Linked DNA regions of Homo sapiens: all the other regions are linked to region 1. Evidence: promoter capture Hi-C in 16 types of primary human blood cells and fetal thymus (Javierre and others, 2016). All regions are on one chromosome and are shown on one strand. The core of a region is centred on a gene start or on the middle of the fragment in contact, and the rest is flanking DNA. Distances in the headings are between cores, read along the strand shown.

Region 1 (5,916 bases), core at 1,394-3,893:
GTTCAGCCTAGATGCCACCAGCCCAGGGTTCTCTCTTTGCAGTAAGCCCAGAGAGCTCTTTACCTGGCTCTTGGCCATCTTCTTAGCTGAGAAGTAAAGGCCAGCAGCACCTTGAGACTTCTGGCTGATTCTCATTCTTCACCAGAGAGAGGCCATTGCTCCACACTGAGTTCCCTAAAAGGCTTTGGCTGCAAGTCTATCCAATGGGGAGCAATCCATTCCTTCTCTCCTGCACATGAGCATTACTGCATTTCCTAGGTGAGGGAATATTAGCAGGCTAGAAGTTCTATTTCTGCTTTCGCTATCCTCTGGCTTCCCACTTTAAGCGTCTGTGTCTCTCCATTTATAAAATGGGTCCAATAATGTCACTGAGCACTTTTTTTTCAGAGAAAATTTAAGGGCATTAATGAGATAATGACTACTAAGTATGGTGACTTCAGTAATAAACTGTGGTTTTGGACAGGGTCCACTGCAAGGGCATAATTTTTTAAAAATCCTCAGTGATGTGTCATGCAGAAATCTATCCACTCACTTGTTCAAACTGGAAGATTTCAAGGACAGGAGGTTTGGAATGTTAAAATACTGAATGAGTCAGTGTTGGTTTCTGATGCTCTGCATTTGTCTATTTCAGTCTTTCTTCCCTACCCTTACAACCTCTGACTTCACTGTCTTCCTGGATGCATTCTACTTCCTGCCACTCTAGGGAGATGCTAAGATTTCTGGATCCAATGCCAAGCATAGTAAAAAAGAAAAGTGGTGCCATTTCACTCAGAACTGTGTCTCTCACCCAGAAGGCTCCCCAGCCAGAGGCAGAGAGTATTTTCTTCATCTTGGAGAAGGGGCCCATTGTGCTGAATTAAAAATAAGACAAAGAATCACCATTCTAGGGTCCATTTGGGGTTGGAAAGAGTGAAACCACCCCACCTTGCCTATGTATCTCCCCTGTCTCAACACACTTGAAGAAAGTGACCAGAACCATAAACAGTTAGGGGTTAAATCAAGGGAAGACTTGCTCCTACAAGAAGCCACATCTCTTTCAAGTTCCCTGTAGGATGCTGGCTCCACGGAGACTTGAATGATTGAAGGAAATCCTCAACACCACTTGTTGAATGACTCAACCAGGTAGGTGTGGCCAGGACTGAATGGGGCAGGGGCAGGCCTATAGTGTCTCCAAGACAATACCAAAGCAGATGCAGGGAATTGACTGAACATACTTCAGAGAGGCAGAAAGCAGGAGAGACAGAGTAATACCTTGCAAAAAGTAGCAGCAGTGAAGAAAGAAGTAATAATGAGCTCCTGTTTGCAGAGCCTCTCAGTGCTGGAGGAGAACAGAGTACCACTTCAAGCCCTCCTGAGTCTGGGACAAGTCTAATTTTGTTTCTGCTCACCCTAGACATATAGAGACAAACCTTTATTCTTAGTTGTTTTTCACTGCCAAATGCCCCAGAAAACAGGGCAGAACAGACTTTGTCTTCTTTCCAACCACCCATAGCCAAAGATGGCATAAAAGTGGAGGGTACCTCCTGCCTCCTTGCAAATGTAATATAACCCACACCAGCCAGTCTCTGCAAAGCTCAAGACACTAGCACTTTCCTACCACCATGAAGTCAGAAGGGACCTCAACCCCCCAAAGCCGCCCCAGCCTGAGCTTCACCTGTTGCACCTGCCCACTTACCATGGGTTCACACCAGAAGAGAAAGTAAAAGGTCAGGTTGGGCTCTCTCCACAGCAAGAGCCCAGAGAATACTAGGAAACTGACATTTTACAAAGCACCTCTTTAAAGCTCTCTCAGAGGTGCGTAACTTTTAACTCTACCTCCACTCCCAACCCCCCAGGCTTCCTTTGCAACTCTTTCCCACCATGGATGGCTTGTCGGGAGAGAGTTAAAGAAGGTGCACGACTAATTCCCCAAACCATCTCGCTTATCTACAGACAAAAAGAACAGCCTTACATGGAGACACGCAGAAACCACCCGCAATTTAGCTCAGACCTCACCTGTCTTATGCAACAGTACACACACACACACACACACACACACACACACCCGCAAGGCCAGAGTCCAATCCCCCTTTAATTCGGTAAACATAGTTTTGCGCCTTTCTTTTCCCTACGCAGAACCCGACTCTACTGGCAGCAGAGAAATAGATGTAACCCTAGTGCCAAATGCCTTGCAGAACACACAGATACACAGGAACCAAAATGCATCTCATAGCTCTCCTTGGTGCTGAAATCACGTTAGCCAGAAAATCAAAGGAGCGAGTGCTCTGGACTTACCCAGGCTGGGGGTGGGCGGCCGGGGAGCGAGAGGAGCTTCCTGGGAAGAAAATTCTTGCTTGCTCAGGCTGGAGCCAGCTGATGCGCTCACCTAGAGAGCCCTCCTCTTTCCCTTCTCTTCCCTTCCTCCTATTCTGGGAGGAAGAGACAAGGCTCCACGAAAGAAATGAAACCCAAGCTGTCAGGGCTACGGGTGGAAGGAGAATGAGGAGGCAACCAAAATAAGATCAAAAAGTCAGGTGGCTTCACTCCACTAGTGGTAATTCCTTGGGTCAGAGAGGACCCCCTTCTCTCACTCTCCCTGGGTCTGCCCGTCTCCTCTGGGTGTTGAGCCAACAGCCTTAGCACAGTCGGTTCCTGCCTCTGACGTGAAAGAGAGGAGGAAGCCTGGGACTGCTTTGCTGTCTCTCTCTCTCTCTCTCTCTCTCTCTCTCTCTCTCTCTCTCTCTCACGCGCTCTCTCTTTTCCCCTCTTGCTGAAATTTCAGCAGCATGATTTTTTTAAGCCTCCGTTTTTTCCATCCCCCTACAAGCAGCCCCCTAGTGGACAGAAAAGAAAAGCATCCTAAATCCTCTTGAACAGTCCAGATTCAGGCACAGAAATACTCCCCGCACCCAACTCTTGGAGCTGCCTCTGCATAGGCAGGGTCCTGAAGAAGATAGAGGCTTCCCTCTGACCAACCCAGATAAGAAGAGAAAGGGAGAGGATGGAAGCTTTTGCAGATCCTTTGCCCATGATTGAAGGAGAAATCCAGGGTGGAATGGGTTGGGATAGAATGTTTTGGAATAAGGTCAGTTGTGGGGTTCTCAAGTGGTTTGAGGTCCGGGCTCAGCAGAAGGAACCCTCCAAAAAGTCAGCGTCTGCAGCCAGGTGAAGTATGTGTATACGTAGCACAACCCAGGCATGGGAATGCCTAAAGAGGCAGAGGATACAGGGAGCTGGCCCTTCATCCAACTCCACAATATAGCTTTTTTGTAAAGCTAGTAAGAAAAATATCTGAAAAGATATGGCCTGAGATCATCTCAGAAGTAGAGACAGAAGTGACCTTGATGCACATTTATGGAGAACCTTGGCAGAGAAGGGGCATCAAGGGGTCACTGCTCATAGGCTCATAAGGGATATCTAACATTCTCTTTTAAATGTACAGCCACACAGCCTCCCGGAAAGAGTCCTAATACTTACATCTAAAAATCTGAGTCCTGGTTTCAGACTGCCACTTGCTTACTGGACATTTTGCTTCTCTATGGCTCAATTTTACTGTTTGTAAAATGTGGATAATGCTGCCCCCTCCCTACTGAATAGGAATGCTAAGGGACTGGAATGATATAGAAACATAGAACCTCAGGATTGGCAGGGAATTTAAAGGTAATCTTATACAAACACTCTTCTTATATTTGATTCACTCCTGGCAAATAACAATAGCTAACATTTATAGAGTGTTTATACCAGGTGCTAGGCACTGTTATAAGCCCTTACATGTATTAGCTCATTTAAGCCATACAATAACTCTATAATGCAGAGGCTATTATTGCTACTCTATAGACTGGGAACTGAGTAACAGAGGAATGAAATAACTTTCCAAAGATCACACAACTAGTGAGTGTCAGGGATGGTAATGGAACCTGAGCCATCTGACCCTGGAGCTTCCTCATTGAATTACCATGTTCTATAAATGTACACTTCAGGAGTGACATTTGAAGTAAATAGAAGATAGCACCACAGTTATCATTGCTTTTATTTATGACAAAGTGCCTAGATTGTTACAATAAATTTATATGTGGCTGAGTTTTTAAAATAAAATATTTACCACTAGGGGTGCCAAACAAACTGTGGAAATTGCTATTACCGATGAGAATCTCCTAAGAAAATTAATTCTCTTGGTGATTTGGGTAGTTTCACATATACAAAACTGGCTTTAAATCTTATAAAATTGGAAACTATTGGGTTTTAACATCAGTTCAGAAGACACATCACTCAATTTCTGTACCAAAAGCAAATTATTGCCCACTGCCTAACACAGTGCAAGAACGGAGCCAGCAATTTGAAGAGCTGAAACGTTGTAATGCATTCAGGTAATAAACGCTCAGTGAGAAATTGACATTTTCTTCAGAATCTCAGAATTATGAATTCCTTAGCTGAGGTGGCTTACTTTTTCTGGCTTTTTTTTTTTTTTTGGGTGAAAAGTGGATGAAGTAGGACAAAGATGGTAGGTGACAATTAACAAATCATGGTCCCTGTCCTCAACAGAGTTACCAGTTCCTCAAAGGGGGAAAGAAAGAGCAAGACACAAATGATTACAATTCAAGGACTAAGTGCCAAGAATTTGGGCAGTGAGCACATGGAAAACACAACTAACTTGATCTTTGAGGGCTAGGGGAATTCCTAAGGTATGCAGCATCTAAGCTGAGGCCTGAATAATCAGAAGTCTTCCCAGCAAAAAGTGGGTGAGAGAATTAAGCTGAAGGCATAGCATGTGCAAACTCATGGAGGAGGGAAAGGGGAAAGAGCATAGTAGGAAACTTTCAAAGAAAGTATTACCCTTCCACTGACAAATGGGGAATCTGAGGCTCATAAAAGTTAAGTGGCTTGCTCAAGTTCACACATCTAATAAGTATAGAACCCAAATCAAATGCACATCTATTTGACTCTAAAGTCATCCCCTTTGTGAAGCATGATGATATCTTCTCTCATCACTTAGAAGTGCCCACACCATTTAATAGAGTGTTTCAATAACATAGAAGCTAACATAACCGAGTGAGGGTGTAGCATCTACCAGGAAGCTGGAAGTATGATCTGTTACTATTAGATGAGAAACCCATAAAAAAGGCACTAGTCAGTTCAAAAAAAGGGGAAATTTAGGGTGCTAGTATTTTTTTTCTGGTGGATGTACAATTATTAAATGTATTGGGAAGTAGGAATATTTCAGAAGTACGGAGACATCAGAGACTTGGATTTGAAATGAAGATGAATGTAGAAACGGCTAAAAGAAGGTTTCAGATTAAGTGCTCTGGGAGCCCAGAGGAAGGAAAGGTCCTTCTGCCTAGGAGGGGTTATGGGAGACTTCACCTGGGAAGTGGCCATTCATCTGGACCGTAAAGAATGTAGGTTCAGGAGACTGCTCCATTGCACCTAGACATTTTATAAATAGAAACATGAGATCCGAGTTTTCTTAATGAATAGTGAGACACTGATTAGAGGGAGAGTAGAAAGAAGATCATTGTAGACAGAAAGATGTGAAGCTTTGGAATATGGATGGGTTTGGGAAGAGTAGAAGAGAAGTGAGATTGATGGATGAATTTGATTTTGGATATGTCAGGCTTTGGGAGAGTGAGCTTATATACTATAATAGAGCTGTCCTGGCAGTGGCTGGAGTTCTGGAGCTCAGATGAGAGATCTGGATTGGTGATTTAGATCTGGAGCCCATTTACATGGACATAATAGTTGCTGGATGGAGACCACCAACAGGAGAGAAAACAAAGAAGACTGAGGGCAGAATCTCAACCCTATTTCCTTGACCTCTGGATCAAGTTTTATATTTCTTCTTTAGTCCTTGTAGCTGAAGTGCTTGATACCCAGAAAATAGCCTGAAAATACTTACTGATTGGCTCATAACAATAACCAAATATGTAGTTGAAGATGATA
Region 2 (5,822 bases), core at 756-3,255, 210 kb before region 1:
TGAGGGGACCTGGCTGCCTACCTATTTGGTAACTCCTGCAATTCCAACACCAAGCCATGCTAGTGAAAAGTGATTTGTAAGTGTGTGGGGAAGGGGACTAATCTGGACAAGCTATGTTCTCCTGTGAGGTGGTTCAGACACATGTGACAGGCTTGGCCGGGAAAGATGGACTGCCCTCTGTGCCAGGAGGTGGCTTTGAGATTTAATCAGCAGGGTTTGTCAAATATTCTTTTATCCACACAAGTGCTTTCCCTGAGCAGAGTGCAGGTCAGTAAAAATGTCTTCATTGTAATACACTGCCAGTGTTGCTTTCGCGACAGGCAACCTTAGCCGTTGGTACACCCTGGTCCACCTTCCATGTCTGCTTGGTTGCAGAGAACTTGATCTGAACCAGCTGGTATCCTAGAAGCAACAAATTAACCAATTCTCCCTTAAGTGTGAATGGTTGATAGCCAGCGTGATGTGATGATGTCTCTTGTGAATTGGAATGTTCAAAGGTGTTTTAAATGGCATGGGGTACTTTGTAGTCAAGTGCCCCCAAGGAAGGCAGGCTGCCACTGAGGGTGTTCTGGGCTGATTCAAACATGGGGCTTCAGAAAAGACTTGCCTTAAATCTGTAGAGTAGCATGAGGGATACTGAGACTGTAGTGAGTCTAAGGAAGAAAATGAGCTCCCGAACAAACTTTTCACAACAAACTTAAGCTGTATAACAAACTGTATAACAAATACAGAGAGAAGACTGGTGGCTATATTATTGTTTTGTGCAATAAAAAACGGCCACACCTGTTTGAAAAGTTCCCAGTTCAGTATATCAAGTTTGAGTGCCATGGAAAGTTATTAAAGGAGCAAAATATTCACTGTGCCTGACAACTCTATGAATCCTAAGAGCCTTCTCCTGTGGACCATTTTTTAGAGGTTATTATTTCAACCTGAAAATTCTTTAGACATATATATGTGGTATGAAAAAGGAATTAGGAAAGCTTTTAAATTAAAGGAAATAAAATGACAGGTTTTTCCTCCAGCCATATAGTTATGGATAGAGATAAAGAGATGGATATTTTTTCATAATACTTTATTAGGGGTTTTGGAACTCCAGAAATTTTAGAGCGAGACTGGTGAATAATTTATCACTGATTCATGCGGGCCCAGTGCAGGCACAGGCAGGCTGGGAGTCAAGTCTAGCTTCTTGGAGGGACTGAGCACAGTAACACACTTTCATTACCAACCGCATCATGAAATGCATTCAGAAATATTTTATGAGAAGCCAAAGCCTTGGTACCCGGTTTCTCCAGCTTTTTCAGAGACTGCATGAAGCCCAGAGGAGCTAATGCTGTTGACCACCTCATTTCAAGGAGACTAGCCCCCAGGGTGTTGTTCCAGTAACAAAAGGTCTCAGATCCCTGGGAATATGCAGTTACATATGAAAGCCACAGACTGGCCATGGGAATGATGAATGATCAAATGTTCACAGGAAATACCTTTTGTGATGGTGTCTTCGATGCTTTCTCTTTACTGCACTTTCTTTAATCCTAATTCCAAAAGAGACCTGCCCTCTATGCAGTTAAAACGATACAGCCACCTGAAACAGAAATAAGGGAGGGAAGAAATATATTAATGGTTTCAAAATAAGAAACCCTGGTTTCCCTTTCTATTCTAAGTACCACATCGCCTTTAAAATAAATTTGTAGGTGCACCATGTGAATTTCCAAAGCAAAGAAAATTGTTGCTTAGTTGCTTTTTCTCTCCAGAGACTTTCATTTATTTCATTGATTTTCTTTCATTCATTCTCATAGTTTTCAATAAAAAGGAAAATATTTGAGGTAAACAAATCTATGGAATGATTATAAATCCAGAAATGTGCTTTAGGTTTTTGAAAGTGACTGTAATAACATGCTTAGCTGATCTGATTATGACAAATGCTTGACACTCCCTCCAAAAGGCCTCCCATACAAACCTCCTCCCCAACCTGACCCCCTCTTATGTCCTTAATGTCCTTGGCACTCTAAGCATTCCTATGTTGTGAAAATCTCCATGTACTATAAACCTCTTTATTTGTGCCATGCTCACTCTGGACTCCCAACTCTTCAGGGTCAGAGTCTTCAACTTTCTCACTGCTTTAGTTCCTGTCCCAAGCACAATGCCAGTGCATAAAAGTTCAACAAAGAAGGAATAAATGCATGCAAAACAAAGTAATTCTCCCAGATTAGAACAACCTCCAACAGAAGCAGTGGCATCGATTGTTAAGTGAGAGCCTTCTGAGTAAGCAAATTTGTCAGCTTCTGTAACCAGGGGTCCTACGCAGATCTTCAGCCAGGCCTCCGCTACACAATTTCCAAGGAAGTGTCAACACAGTTGGTGGCTCGATAATTATGCCTTCAAGGGCTTGCTTCTCACAAACCCTGCTAAGCCTTCTCCAAATGGGACACTGAGCCCCAGGGATATCATTTATAGGTGCTTCAAGAGGATGGATTTGCAAAAATCAGGCGACATCTGAGAGAGGAAGAAGCAAGCATTTGGCTGAGGTAGAGGCTTGCTCATCTAAGACATCTGTGAATAAATTAACCTTCCCTGGAGGACCTCATGAAACCCTCAGAATTGGAAGAAGTGTAAAGATTATTTAGTTCTGGAAGGGCAAACATTTTCCATCTTGAGTGAATACTCCAGTGCATCCACTGTGGCTGCCTGGCGAGTGGGGACAATAATTCTGAGGTGGCATCACAGGGAAAGAACTGGTCATCAATGGGTTTGCCAGGGCCCAGGACTGGGAGGTGTTGCAGGTGATATAAATGCCAGGTATTTTTCTCTTCCAATTCTAATCTGGCTGCTCACCAAATGGAAGAATCGCAGGTTCTTTGGACAGTGTAATTTAGATGGTAGCTGCCCACAGATTGCAGCCTATTTGGGGGGCAGATAGCTCTGAGACTAGAAAATCTCTTCTTCCATGGAATTACAACTCCCCCTCCTGTTTGCTTCCACCCACTGACCTTTCTTTTCCTCATCCTCACCTGTGAGGTGCTAACCTCACTCTCAGAAAGCTTGTCCAATATCTTTTGAACCAACTGCATCAAAAGTCATGAAAAAAATTATGAAAATCCCCTTCACTTGAGTTTATTAAAAACACCGGGTACTTTTGACATGCTATTTTATTGTTACCTATTTCTCCAACTAGATGTAGGCACAGTTATTCACTCATTCAACTAACATGTTTATTACATTTTAAAGTTCTTCATTTGATATTCCTAAAATTATAAAAGTGACACATGCTTATTATAATAAAAAAGTCAATATAAAAATGTATGCAGAAGACGCTAATCGTTTCTCCCAATCTCGGTTCCTTAAGTAACATTTTAATACACTGGTAAGTATCCTTCCACACTGTCATAATTCCCAGGAAACAGCTTGAGACTGGATATGCACACAGAAGGCTTACTGAGACTTACTCCTGAGGGCTACGGCACCTGGGGGAAGTACAGGAAGTGGAACTGGCCAGAGGGAACGTTGGAGGTGTCCTGCATTGAAAAAGGATCCAGGTCTTAGGGCCCCACACACACCCGCCTCTCTTTGGCTCTGGGCTGCCCCCAGGGAGAGGATGGGCAAAGCAGCTCTTTTTGGCTGGTGGTGATTCCTGAAAAGGGACTCAGCTGTGAGCTGTCAGCAGCCAACGCTCCCAGCAGCTGCAAAATTGAGTGCCTCAGTTGGGTGGTGTCTCAAAGCACCCAAATATACACCCTCCCTTTTGCTCATTTAAACCTAATTATGCATATATAACAGATATATGGGATGTTTTTGTTTATAGTTTTTAACTGAAATACTCTGCAACTTGCTTTGACTTAACATACAAACATCATCATTTTTCCTCTAATTTGTTTATGCATACATACACATACTTTTACAAGATTATACTATACATGTAGAATTTTTAGTGCACTCTCTTTTTTTTTTCTCCATTGCTTGCCTCTCTCTACCTCCTCTTCTTCCCTGAACTATCCACATTACCTCGGCCCCTGTGTTGGCAGCATGGAGTACATCCTTTTAGACTTCCTTTCACGCTCATTTAACCACATATATACATATGTGAATGTGGATATGTGCACTTATTTACTTTTTTAGTCATTGGCAGCAACCATTTACTGAGAGCCTTGTGAGTACCCAGGCCCATGCCAGGCACCAGGAATATGAAGAAGAGGATACAGCCACCACCTGCAAGAAGCTCCTGTCTTTGAGGGAGAGGGACATGGGAACTTGTCAGGGCATGCACCTCCAAAGTGATTTAGAGGAATAGAATTAGAATGTGGGGTTTCTGTATTCCAGTCCTATCCTCTTTTCCACTTAACCAGTTTTATTTATTTAAACGGGTTTCCAACTGTTGGCTGAGCAACTGCCAAACTGAAGTGGAGTGTGTGTGCCAATCTTCCTGAAGTCATTACCACACTTGTTCTGATAGAATGAAGCTCATCGTGAACCCCATATACTGGCCCTTGTGATATAAACACGCATTACCTCACTAGTAGATCCACTTAATTTGATGAACAAGTCCTACAGCCCTAATGATATCACACAAAGGCCTTATCTTAAGATAGATTCATATAACTGGTGACAAGGCAAAGGATTATTATCACAGCCATTCTTGAAGCTGATGTGTCTCAAGGTAGTCATATATTCCTGCAGCAGCAAGTTCTAGAGGCAAAACCACTGGCTTAGACAAATATGGGGTACAGGGCTCATGGTCCCAAATCCTTTTAGCTTACACAGTTTCAGAGGGACCCGAGGGAGAGGGGAAGTGGCACCCCAAGAGACATACACAAAAGTAAAGAGCATGCTGACCTGACTCTCCAGCAGCTTCAGTAAATGGGTGTGTTCTTTCTGTCCACGCTGCAACCTACTCATTTACCTGTATGTACCCTTTCCAGTGCTCTGCATTATCTGGGGTCAACTTGCAACAGCTCATCTTTGGAAAAAACATCCTATGAAATATGTCTAGAAAATGTGCATTATATTTTCCTTCCTCATCAAGTGCTGACCCCTCTGTAACACAGGTGAGTTCAGCCATCAGAGGGGATTGGCTTGGACTTTGTAGCATGGGCTCCCTGCCCCTGACTGCCTAGGCAAGAGCTGAGGATCTGGACAGTCCAAAAAGTGCAGCCCAAGAGACTCTGTTGACCTCAATCACAGATTTTTCTCCAGGGCTTTGTGTTTTTGTCCTCTTTGGCTTAGGTGAGTCATGGACTTTAGAAGAAAGACACCTGCTGGGCCAGGTGAGATCCAACAATCAAAAACTGCAGAGATTTCAGACTTCACAGTAACAGTTCTTTTTGACATCCAGTATAAACCTTGTTGCTTGAAAGGTTTTGGTTGATGTACTGCAAATTGCTGGAGATGTTCCAGTAATGGATATTTGATCCCAAGGATGCTGATCAGCTATAGACAAGATTGCCCAATACCCCAAAGTATGGTCAATTTATTTTGTTCTCAATTCTCACAGCAGTTGGTTGCTGAACAATGGATCAGATTGTGAACAACCTTCAAGTTGTTCTTAGTCATCTTAATGTGAAAATGGGAAATTTAGGCAACTGTTGGTGATCTGACCCATATTCTGCTTCTAAATAAACAAGGCTTCCTACCAGGAGGGATCTTGAATGGCTGTTATTTCAGACTCCTACTTTCAGGCATACAAATGTGAATGTTTCTTAGAGGGATTTCTCTGACCCACTGGTATTGGCAAGGCTTTGCAATTCAGCAGAGTGTAAGAAGTTCATGAATTCTCCATTTATCTACTGATGCATAACAAATTACCCTAAAACTCAGTGGTTGAAAATAATAAA
Region 3 (6,456 bases), core at 1,996-4,495, 190 kb before region 1:
TAGCCTCTTTTGCAAGTCTTTTAATATCCATTGGAAAATAATGCTGTCTTTGATTCTGAGAAATCCCTAACACTTCTTCCCTTGTTTCTAATTAGCAATATTTCTGTGGTAATTAAGATGAGAGTAGCTCCTCAGTTCTGCAGCATTTTTAATTCAGAAAGAAAGAAAAATACAATAATAATATAAAGTGGCTCTAAGAATGAATTTGTTAGGGGACTTGAGTGTATGATAAATAATTTCAGCCCATCTTAAAACACACACACACACATTCGTGTAGATATACATACATATCATACATATGCATATACAAGAACAAACACACACACACACACACACACACACACACAAACAATAATTACCCAATTCTGGAAAAACAGGATTCAAAATGCACCAATGGAAATACTGTCATTCTGTGGGCAGAACAAATGCATTATCTTAAACTCTAGGCATCCCACAAAATGAACAACTGCAGTGAGCTGAATGCTGATGAAAAATGGCCACAAACAGGCCACCTTTCTTCTCTCATGGGATGGCTGGAAATGGGCATATTTCCTTGCTGGTCAAACACCCAGTGACTTGGCATTTTCAATACTTTTCAAAGGCCCGCTGCATATATTCACTCTGTGTTAGCTTTTGTTCTTGCTAAGTATGGAGTGGAGTCAGAGCTCTGCATTGCCAGACAAAATCTAATGCTGTAGGCTGAGCCAAGAGTCAAAGGTGCTATCATTTCTACTTTACAGATGGCACTCCTATCTCTAAACTTGGGTTTGTGCATGAGTGCACAAATACATGCTTATACATCTTCCTAAGGGATTAACAAAAAGATGTCCTACATGGCAAAAAAAAAAAAAAAAAAAAGATATCCTTTCTTCATTTCTGACTTTTTAAAATCAAGGCATATTTTGAGGCTGGTGCTCATCAGAGTACAGGTAATGAGCTCTTGCTTGTAATTTTGTGAGTGTATATTTTCTCAGGGAATTGACAGATAGCATAGGGTTCTATTTGTTTGGAAATCATAATTATTTCTGGCAATTTGGTAATTATTTCTCCTGTAGCTAGTTACTTGTTGCCTTCTCAAGCAAAATTGTGTTTGCCAAGAGCTGGCTGTGGCAGTGCAGTATTTGGTGGCTAAGGCTCTGGGCATGGCTCATGGGGATGCTGGCCCTGCTAAGGACAGGCTCCCAGCTCCATGATTTCTCCAGCCCCCACCCCTGAGCTTGTCCATATCTGAGGAGAGTGAGCTGCTAAGTAGAATGCTTCTCTTTGTTTTAGTTGTTTCTTCCATTGTGAAATCCAGGATTCTCCCACTCCTATGTTTATTCAATCATAAAACCATTGGGAGTTAGAGCTCATTGAGCCTTTGAGATCATCTTATTCACCCTCTCATTTTATGAATGGAAAATCTGTGGTGCACAGTGAATGGTTATGCCAAGGTCATCCAGCAGTCGGGAAGGGCTAGGCTAGAACACAGGTCTCTTTACTCTCTGGCCAGTGCTCCTTTATCCTCCATGTGATGATTTAACTCTTTTTAGTTAAGCAACTTGTATAGATTTTCCAGTATGGATTAAGCATAGTCCTAGGTGCTGCAAGCTCAAGAAAGCCAAAAAAGAGGGAATGGTAGATGTCAAATGAGACAACATTAGAAGAGAACATTACACAGTGCCTGGCCCAGAGGAGATATTCCATGGGTCCCTGCTTTTCTCCCCTTTGCTCTTCCCCACCCCCTATAGATACATACAGAGGGGAAAAATCTCAGATATTTGAGGTAGTCAAATTCTTGCAAGTGTCAGAAGGGGAGCTGATAGACAACTCCAGTTACTCCTTTAGAAGCACATTTTCTAGTTCCTAATAAAACCTCTCAGGCTAGGCCCACACCTGGAAGAACTCCCCTGGTATTCTATAAAGACATCAGCTCCTGGGCTGCCCCTCTATTCCAGAGTGTTGATGAATGTGTGGCTCGCCCACACTGCCTGATTCATAAGCACATTAGTGCTGACTCACCGACAACTGAGAGAAAAAAAAAAAAAAAAAAATCTCCTCAGGTTTTGAGTTGAGATGAAGACACTTACAAGATGCAAAATTCAGCTCTACTGATGGAATGATAACTGAAACACACCATGAGCTAGTCATCTGGGGAAAATATTGTCAAGGGTATTTGGTCTCAAACCCAAGCTCTTGTACCCATTTTCTGAATTCATAATAGAATCTTCGTTTTCCAGAGATTTAAAAATCTCCTTACTTTACTATTAATGAAAAACAAGAAGCGTAAAACCATGAAGAATCTAAAGTAGCTGACCCAAGTTCAGCTTATCCCTGAGTTCAGCCTTGATAGGAGGATTTGGCTAGAAGGCTCCTTCCAACCATGAGTTGTGTGGCTATAAGATTATCACCAACCATCTTAGTGCCAGCTTTACATGAATCTGTTGTTCAATGATTTGAAGCTTCTCTAGATCTTATTCAAAGCAAGGCGTATAGGCTCAGACAGCCTGCTCCACCCCTGGATACTTATATAGAATAATCATGTAGAAATTATTGAATTGAGGGCAGCCAGGGCTGCAACTTGAGTTCCTGGGCCCCTCTGCAAATACATCTCCAAATAAGAAGACCGACGGCCTTTTTGGCATGTAATGAAATACAGAGCCATTCTGAAGATGGGCTCCTTGGCCACTGGGGAAGGCCATCCTTTGGTTTTGGCCTCAGCTCCTTGCCTTTTGATTCTTTTCCACCTCCTCATCAGAAGGCTAACAATCTAAACACCAAGCTCAACACACCCACATCAGTTAGTAGGCAGTTTTAGCCACATATAGCACAACACAAGTAATGTCCATGAAGGACAAAGCATATTCAAGTGCGTAAAGGACTGGTATACTGCCTGGTACAGAACCAAGCCTGATTTTAGCATGCATCTTTCATCTTTTTCTAAATCCAACTTGTACCAAAATACATTATGAGAAAAACTGTCTCTCTAAACTCTGTGAAAACAAGACCTTTTCTGGCAAGACTCCTGGTGTAGCCTGTCCTGTCTTCAAGCAGGACCCCATTATCCACAATGGCTGCTCAGTAAGCCTGGGCGTCCCTGTTACACTCACCTTCTCTGAACTCTGCTTTCTTGGTTGTTTAGCCTCTCAGCCTCCCTGACTCTCCTCCTCTTGCTCCTTCTCAGTCTCAGCTGTGCTTTTCTGTATTTGTGCATGTGTGTCTGACTCCTCTGTTGCCCCCTCTCATGGTACCCAGGGAGGCACTAATACTCCGGTGTCCTCAGCACAGTCCCCTTCCTTGGATAGACAAACTCAGAAATGGTCCCCATGATCTTTGCCTCCTGGTACTCATCCCCTTATGTAGTCTCCTCGCCATGAGTGTGTGTGGGACCATTGATGCTCTTCTAACCAACACCATATAGCAAAAGTGTTGAGATGTCACTTCCATGATTATGTTGTGTACAATTGTGACATCTTGTTGGCAGACTCCCTCCCTTGATGGTTTTGATGAAGCAAGAAGGCACATTGGAAAGGTCTATGTTTCCAGTATAAGACAGGGAGCTGAGGATGTCTCCCCACTGCCCAATAATCAGGAATTGAAGGCAGCCTCTCACAGACAGTCAGCAAGAATCTGAGGCCTTCAGCCCAACAAGCCAGAAGGAAATGAATTCGCTAACAACCACATGACACTGGAAGCAGACCTTTCTCCAATTGAGAAGAGACCACAGTCCTGGTCAACATCTAGGTTGCAGCTTTCAGATGAGACCCTGAGCCAGAGGACCCAACAAAGCCATGCACAGACTCCTGACCCACGGAAGTGGTATGATAATGTGTGTTGTTTTAAGCCACTAAGTTTGTGATAATATTACTCACAGCAATAAATAACCAATATACATCATACTTGAAGCACTCAACAATATGGCTATTCAGTTTCAAAGACTGTTTAGATTCAACAGTGTGTGAGGAGGATAACAGAAAACATTTACCCTAACATCCCTTTTGCAGAATTCCCTCTCCCCAGCACCTTGGACAGTTCACATCCAATCTCAACTTGAACTTTGATAGCTTTGAGAAGCTTAGTGTCATACAAGATAGCCATCTCACACCAGTTAGAATGGCAATCATTAAAAAGTCAGGAAACAACAGGTGCTGGAGAGGATGTGGAGAAATAGGAACACTTTTACACTGTTGGTGGGACTGTAAACTAGTTCAACCATTGTGGAAGTCAGTGTGGCAATTCCTCAGGGATCTAGAACTAGAAATACCATTTGACCCAGCCATCCCATTACTGGGTATATATCCAAATGACTATAAATCATGCTGCTATAAAGACACATGCACACGTATGTTTATTGCGGCATTATTCACAATAGCAAAGACTTGGAACCAACCCAAATGTCCAACAACGATAGACTGGATTAAGAAAATGTGGCACATATACACCATGGAATACTATGCAGCCATAAAAAATGATGAGTTCGTGTCCTTTGTAGGGACATGGATGAAATTGGAAATCATCATTCTCAGTAAACTATCGCAAGAACAAAAAACCAAACACCGCATATTCTCACTCATAGGTGGGAATTGAACAATGAGATCACATGGACACAGGAAGGGGAATATCACCCTCTGGGGACTGTTGTGGGGTGGGGGGAGGGGGGAGGGATAGCATTGGGAGATATACCTAATGCTAGATGACGAGTTAGTGGGTGCAGCGCACCAGCATGGCACATGTATACATATGTAACTAACCTGCACAATATGCACATGTACCCTAAAACTTAAAGTATAATAATAAAAAAAAAAGATAGCCATTCTATCTATGGACAACTCTTTCTTTTTTAAAATAATTATCTTATATCTATGCCACACTTATTCTGTGCTATTCACTACTCCATAATGTATATGCTTCATTGAAATTATTTCTCACAGTAATTCCATTAAGTCAGTACTATTATTATCTACACTATAAATATGAGGAAACTAAAGCTCAGAGAAGTTAAGCAACTTTTCCAAAATGAGTGCATTAAACAGACTTTAACCCAACTCTAACTCAAAGTCATATTCTGAACTACTATGACATACTGCTCCAATCTTGTTAGAATGTTCCTCCTTATGTTAAACCAAACTTTTCCTTCTTCTGATACACCGTTATTGATCCCATGGGAGTTTTACAGGATAAAAATTGTATTTCTCTTCCATAGGAAAAATTTTAAGATGTGTAAAAATAGTTATTATGTTTCCTCTTTCCTTCTTTATTATAATTTTTTTAAAGCACCCTACTTAAAAACTCAGTATGGAGAGGGATGAGTAAGCAGAGCAGCGAGAAATTTTAGGGCAGTGAAACTACTTTGTGTGATACTGTAATGGTGGATACATGTCATTATACATTTGTCCAAACCCAAAATATGTATACCAAGAGCGAATCCTAGTGCAAACTGTATAATAATGATGTGTCAATTTAGGTTCATCAATTATAACATATGTGCCACTCTGGTGGGAGATGTTGATAGCTAGGAAGGTTGTGCGTGTGTTGGGGTAGGGACACATGGGAAGTGTCTGTACCTTTCATTCACTTCTGCTGTGAACCTAAAACCACTCTGAAAACTAAAAATCTATTTTTTAAAAAAATTTCACTATACAAACAAACAAATGAACAAAAATTCTTCTATGGGGAATGAAGAGAAACTAGCTAATGGATATGTGGTTTCATTGGTAGTGATAGAAATGCTTTGAAATTAGATAGAGTTGGTGGTTCCACACACTGTGAATGTACTAAATAGTACTGAATTGTTCACTTTAAAATTGTTAATTTTATGCCATGTGAATTTCATTATAATATGTTTTTAAAATTCCTCCCTCAAAATGCATTATTTGTATTTCAAACATAGAAAATGATAAACAGAGTGAAATAATATGGACCTATATATCCAACCACCAGCTTAAGAAAGAAAACATTTTAAATAGAATGAAAATTGTGTTTTTCCACCACATACTACCTAGCCCTCCCTTTCCACTGAGACATAACCACTACTCTGGATTTGGTAGTTCTCACTCCCACGAATTTCTTTATTACTTTCCTTCGTACATATGTATCACTGAAGAATACATATCAGTATTGTACATGTTTTTAGATGTAAATAAATGCTATCATATTGTAGGTATTCTTACTCAACTTCCTTTTTCCATTCTGATTATGTTTGTGAGTTTCATAAATATACCACATTTTCTTTATCCATTCTCCTGTTGATGGACCTTCAGGTTATTTCTGTTTGTAGCCATAACAATGAATGCTGCTAGGAGCATATTTATATGTGACTTCTTATACACAAGTGCAAGAATTTTTTAGGTTATATATCTAGAAATATCTTTAGCTCCACCAGTCATTGCCTAGTTACTCTTATGGCAACCTTCTGAGATGACTCATCATTGTATTTGTCCTCCCTGGAGAAGTTCTGGGTTGTCAGGAACACTGGTC
Region 4 (6,140 bases), core at 1,346-3,845, 230 kb before region 1:
GAAGTAGATGATAGATTCTTTGAAGGCAGGGACTGTATCTTAAAAGTAAATAGACATTCTTCAAGAGTATTTATGGAATTAACTTGGAAGAATTTTCCTGTTTCCTAGCAGGAAACCAGTATGAGCCATTATTTTGCTGGGGCAGTTGTTTCTAGTTTTCTCTTTCTTTCTGGACCAGCCTAGGAAGTATGATCCTTCCTCCGCCAGTGGTGTTTTTATTTGATAACAGTAAAAAAAGAAAAGTTTTGACCTAACACCTACAAGCTTTTTTCAATTACCTGGTGAAGTTACTTAAGCTGAACTCTTTTTGCAGCACTGATCCTTTTCTTTCTCCTTTCGAATTGCTAGATGGGAGAGAAAATGGTCTTTGGATGATAAAGCCTGTTTCCAGGTTATCTTTGAGAAAAATGTAATCCACTGTATTCTTCTGCTCCGAGTTTTTCTCCTGCCTCCTGATTTTCTTGGCTCTTATCTCCTTTTCATTATTTCACAGTTGCCTGGGCACCTAAAGAACTTCTCCCTCCCTAACTCCCTGACCCTCACTTTCCAGAGTTTTTTTCATGGCACTTCCAAGCCACCTCACCCCTGATGCTTGACACTAGTGTTGAGAAAAAGCTGGCAGAGAGGACAGTCTTCCAGAAAATGATCTTTTCCAGTCAACTCAATAATAACTTGGCCTAATAGTAAACCTAAAGAGTTAAGAATTCATAGTCTGATGTTAGCTTGAAAGTGCTGTATCTAAACTCTTTCTAACCAATAAAGAATGGATGCTTTGTTAAATGTAGAGATCTCTGGACCAGGGACCATCTTGTACTGTATTTTTAAACTTCCTTCTTTTTCCTGAGGATTGAACTAACATTTTCCAAATGGTGGAGACAGGCTTTATGGGGTGTGTGTATGTGTATGTGTTAAATTCTTTTCTAAAATGTATTTAAGGTCCAGGCATAGTGGCTCACACTCATCTGTAATCCCAGCACTTTGGGAGGATGAGGCGGGCAGATTGCTTGAGCCCAGGAGTTTGAGAACAGTCTGGGGAACATGGCAAAATCCTGTCTCTATAAAAAAAATATAAAAATTAGCTGTATGTGGTGGTGCATGCCTGTAGTCCCAGGTACTCAGGAGGCTGAGGTGGGAGGATCACTTGAGCCCAGGAGGTCGAGGCCACAGTGAGTCATGTTTGTACCACTGCACTCCAGCCCGGATGACAGAGCAAGACCCTGTCTTGAAAATAAATGAAATGAAATGAAATGTATTTAAGGGTTTTCCTCTTCTAAGTCCAGGGACTTTATTTTGTCTGTAAATTACATCCTCATCTTCAAAGTGCACTTGATCCTAAGAACTGTGAAGACCTTTGCCCAAAGCAAAGAAAAAAAAAAAGACACCACAAGTTACCATCCGTGTGCACAAAAGTTATCTGTTACTTTTGACCCTCACTCAGTTTACAACCTCTATCCCGTGTCCCCCATGGCCTTTCCTGGTGAGAGTCAGCACCATCATTATTGTTTCCTATCCCTCTTCCAGGATGGAGGTCGTTGTACCAGGTGAGTGGTTAGGTAAAGCAAATAATAACCATAGTCAAATAATGTCCCTATAACTACAAGCTGTTGAAAAACTCTTAATTGGAACTACAAACTCCTGATTCAGGAAACTATAAAAAGAAGAAAGTAAATAAGTATCTGGAATTTCAAATCAAAATAGTATTATTTGCTTATTTCAAAGCAAGTTTATTCTATAAATCCAGGAGTTGGGTGCATTTATCTTTAAAGTATCAGATAGTAAATTAATGAGATAGCTTTGCCACAGCTTCCCCTGAAGTGATAGTATCCTAGAACTGGCAGATTGTTTTTCTAGAAAGTTTAGCAAGGATATTTTTACAACGTTCCCAAAATTATTCAGTTCAGAATTTATATAGAAGTCACATTAAGACTAGTTTAGAGTAGAATTACTGAAAGGAATTAGCTGCTTATATGGCAAAAAATATCACCAACATGGAGGTGAATAGCTCACTCTTGCCTTGCAAAAATGGATGTAATCGTTTTGTTACACAACTTCCTGCCCCAATTCAGCCAAATTTTCCTGCCAACAGAACCAGAGTGTGGGCCTGTGGGACTCTCTAAGTTGGGACTCCCTGGATCCCTTAGCTTCTGTTTCTTCACAAGCAAGCCTCAGAGCCCAGTGCAGTAAACATATAATAAAACAAAGCTCTGCTGCAATTGAAACAACAGAGCATGCATAGCAAATTAATTTAAATAAAGCATGTCAAATATTTGCTTCACTTTAAATTCATAAAATGCCATTTCATTAAATTGTGTTTTCATTTATGTCAGGCAACTGTCATGCCAAAGCTATTTTTTATTATTTTAGAAGTTGGAAAATGTAGGAAAATACACTTTTAGAATAAAATACTGTCATGATAAAGACATGAGCCCTGTAATATTTGATTTGATAGAGGAATGATGGATTGTGAAGTCTAAGGTTTTATTGTACTGCAATTAGAATAAACATTCATGAAAGGTCTCTACATTCCCTCTATGATGACCCTGTGACAACTGCCATTTGGCGCCTCTGAGAAGTAACATTCCTGACTCTCATGACTCAAGCACATCTTGCAGTGAGAGGCAGGGGTCTGAGCAGGCTGGGATCAAGACAGGGATGCTAAGGAAAATAAGAAGCCCTGCCTGAAAGGGAAGTTAATTTGTGAGTCATGGAGCCACTACTTCTAACTCCTGGGACTGCTTCTCACACTGACAAATCTCTCAGTTCCCCTTTCCTTCCCCTGACCCGTAGTGAGGTGATCACGGACTCTTCTTCCAGAAAGGCACAACAGTCCTGAGTTTTGGAGCTCTCTCCTGGCATTGTTTCCTGGTACACAATGACTTCTCACTAAGCATGATATTATTACATTACTTTTTGAAGAACAAGACTTCTCATTCATTGCTAAAGTCAACAACACATATTGGGTAACCACTGTGATCCAGCACTTTAATAGGTGCTACAGCTATAGGATGATTGAGATAGAATCTCTTGACTCTGGAAGAACTTATGGTCTAGTAGGTCGAAATATTCATTAAAAAAATTCCAACATAAATGGATGTGGCATTCACTCCTAGAACATATCTCCTTGGAAGAGAACTCTCTTCACCCTAGAAAGAAGCATGTAAAAGGGCCAGAACTATCTGGGGAAAGTGAGCCATTTAGAAGGAGGAGCACCCTCTCCAAAGGAGTTAAGATCCGTGACCATTTCAAGTAGGCAGGAGAGGCATCATCTTGAGGATTTCACTAAAACTAGTATTTCAATGAGACTGATTCTAAGTGTAAATTAGAAATATTTTAAAAATCTTTATCAGACACTCAAAGTCACAAGGTTTTCTTTTTTTATTCTCTGGCTATTGGGGAAAAGCAATTTTAAAAATATAGGATAGCAACTCTTAGTAGACTCTTTTGGTATCTACCAAACAAGTGATGACTTCTTTCCTCTAGAATTATCCTCCCTCCAACATATCCCTATGGAGATGGAGAGATGAGTACTATAACCCCAGGCCCCTGAACCTGGTGAAAACAGCTGACCTGACTTGGGTCAGTCATATTCTCTGCCTAGGAATTTAGAATGGAGACTAAAAGAGTGCTAATCTGTCTTCAGTGTCCAGAGGAAAAGCACCTTTAAGAGTTGTGCAGAGTCCATCACATGCATGAAAACACAGAAGACAGTGTAGGTCATCAAGAGAAGCAGAAATGAGAGATGGAGAGAGCACATCGTGGGTTCCTGGAAACGCATTAGTTCCTGGGGTCAGTCCCTTCCCAACACGTGCCCTTTGCTTTTTTGTTCTGCAAGATACCCATGGATCCTGCAACACACTTCCCCTTTTAGGTAAGCCAGCTCCAGTTGGTTTCTGTAACTTGCAACCAGAAGTTCTCTGGTTTAGGTATAGTCCAGCCTAAATGACTGAATGGACCAAGGCATCAGCCATTTCCTCACTTGGATGCTATAGAATTTCAGGTCAGTATGGTTCCCTGGCCCCAACTTACACCTACTGAATCTGAATCGCCTAGGGTAAGGGTCCAGGAAACCACATTTTGTAATAAGTTCTTAGGATGTTCTGTTGGGTTGCCAGGTTTTAAATTGGTGGATAACATGGTAATCCTTGTAATGGGATTCCTGCTGTGTATCAAGTGCTTCTGCGTGGGCTGTCTCTCTGTCTTCCCCACTACACTGTGCTGTAGGCGTTATTTATTGGGGGAAATGTTGATTCATCTCCTGATGTTTCCTCCCATATGGAGGCAGCTCTCTGAGCTATAACTCTCCTGTCTCATCTCCATCCCCTTATTCACTAGTGATCTACCTGCTTGCAAAGTTTGGAAAAAGAAATCGAACACATGTAGTCTAGGTTCTTCTTCTTCCTTTTTGGAGTTGGTCTGCCTGCAGAGAGCAGGTGCTCTCAGATGCACTCCTCCTTCCTAGAAATCCCTCTCCACATGCTCTGTCCCTGCCTGCAGGGGGCTGCAGGGGAGGGACCCTCCCCAGTGCAGTGCTGCTGCGACTGGGTAGGAAGAAGCCCTCCTCATCTCAAGGTTCAATGTTATAGGTGCAGGCAAAAGTAACATCATCAAATATCAGTTTACCAATGTGAAATCTAGGTCTCTACCTGGCTCCCTTCTTTTTCTTACATTTCTATTTGTTCAGAGCTCTGACAGGGAAGAGGGGTGCTATTGACTGGGCTCCTCAGGACCCCTTCCTTATTACGTGTTTCCAGATAAAATCATTTTTCAACACCAGAGTCTAAGCTCTTTCCTCTGCCTGCTCAGGGAACCTCTGGAGAGGGCTTCTCAAACTCACTGCACATGCACATCTAATCCGCGGAAAATTTGTGAAAATGTAGATTCTGATTCTGAAGGTCTGGGATGGGTTTGGAGTATCTGCATTTCTAAAAAGCTTCCAGGTGACTCTGATGTCACCATTGGAAGGTCCACACTGGACCCATGAGGTTATGTAAAGGATCACTTCCAGAGGTCCAGAGTCATATAAGTTGTGATGGGCAGAATAATGACGCCTCAAAGACATCCATACCTTAGTCTCTGGAATCTGTGAATATGCTACCTTATATAGCTAAGGGGACTTAAGGTTGCTCATCAGCTGACCTTAAAATAGGGAGATTAACCTGATGAACTGGGTATTCCTAGTGTAATCACAAGGGTCCCTAAAAGTGGAAGAGGGAGGCAAAAGAGGAAATCAGAGTGATGCTATGTGAGAACTCCATCAGCCATTGCTGGCTTTGATATGGAGGAAGAGGACACCAGCCAAAGAGCATGGGTAGCCTGTACCCTGCATGGAAAATGCAAGAAAACATGTTCTCCCCGAGAGCCTCCAGAAAGAATGCAGCCCTGCCAACACCTTGGCAAAAGCTCAGTGTGACCTGTGTCTGACCTACAGAGCAGTAAGATAATACATTTTTATTGTTTTCAGCCACGAAGTCTGTGGTCATCTGTTATGGCATCAACAGGAAACCAATACACAGATACATCCCTTCCAGCAGCTGGACTATTCAACCAGGGAACCATGGTTCCCAGGGAAACAGTCTGAGAAGTTTTTGTGTAGGGAGATGCTTGGTAAAAACGTAGTGTACCTTGATGAAAAAGTCTACAGTTTTAAATGCCAAAACTACTAGACTGAGTGAATAGGACCAACTAATGCCTGAACAGGCTTGATTTTAAGTTAAGTGAGCATGACGAGCACGTTGTTAAAAACTCAGACCTGATTAAATCTCTGATGAAGCACAGCATGATAAATGCCAGGCGACCACAGCTCTGTGAAAACCAAATGCAGTGTGCAGAGCGGGGGAGATTTCCTGTGGGGCTGGATGACTGCCCCTGAGGAAGGCAACATGGTCACCACATGGTTTGTGCTAATAGTGGTTTCCTGCTGCAGGGAAACATCTCGTCCATGCTACCCAGTCTATTTTTTTTCAGATAAAGAGTGGGAGGATAAAGAAGTTGCGATGGTGTCACTTACTGTGGGGAGACCAACTCGTTCCGGGCCAAGTCTTCACCAACTGAATGTCAGGTTATGAAAATAAACTTTTAAAATGCTTCTGCCCAGAGCTGGAGAATGGAAGTGTGGCTGCTGGAATTAGCATAAATCATGT

What was found. The method cuts DNA at HindIII sites, captures the fragments that hold promoters and counts their contacts. A CHiCAGO score of 5 or more calls a contact.
Region 2: a contact is called between a fragment that was not itself captured here and the fragment with the promoter of TNR in region 1, in 1 of 17 cell types (endothelial precursors). The highest score is 5.5, in endothelial precursors.
Region 3: a fragment that was not itself captured here is called in contact with the fragment with the promoter of TNR in region 1 in 1 of 17 cell types (endothelial precursors); the score reaches 6.8 in endothelial precursors.
Region 4: a fragment that was not itself captured here is called in contact with the fragment with the promoter of TNR in region 1 in 1 of 17 cell types (endothelial precursors); the score reaches 6.3 in endothelial precursors.

The regions. Positions count from the first base shown.
Region 1 is chr1:175,740,952-175,746,867 of GRCh38, forward strand. TNR (tenascin R) reads right to left here and starts at 2,644. Exons shown (of 23, transcript NM_003285.3): 1 at 2,275-2,644. The HindIII fragment of the contact is 6,381 bases long and covers 1-2,985 here.
Region 2 is chr1:175,526,791-175,532,612 of GRCh38, forward strand. It overlaps TNR (tenascin R), which reads right to left. Exons shown (of 23, transcript NM_003285.3): 2 at 1,479-1,579. Among named protein-coding and RNA genes, the nearest start is that of TNR, 210 kb to the right of the region's middle. The HindIII fragment of the contact is 2,055 bases long and covers 979-3,033 here.
Region 3 is chr1:175,553,502-175,559,957 of GRCh38, forward strand. All of the region lies in intron 1 of TNR (tenascin R), which reads right to left. Among named protein-coding and RNA genes, the nearest start is that of TNR, 190 kb to the right of the region's middle. The HindIII fragment of the contact is 1,612 bases long and covers 2,440-4,051 here.
Region 4 is chr1:175,509,005-175,515,144 of GRCh38, forward strand. All of the region lies in intron 2 of TNR (tenascin R), which reads right to left. Among named protein-coding and RNA genes, the nearest start is that of TNR, 230 kb to the right of the region's middle. The HindIII fragment of the contact is 4,666 bases long and covers 263-4,928 here.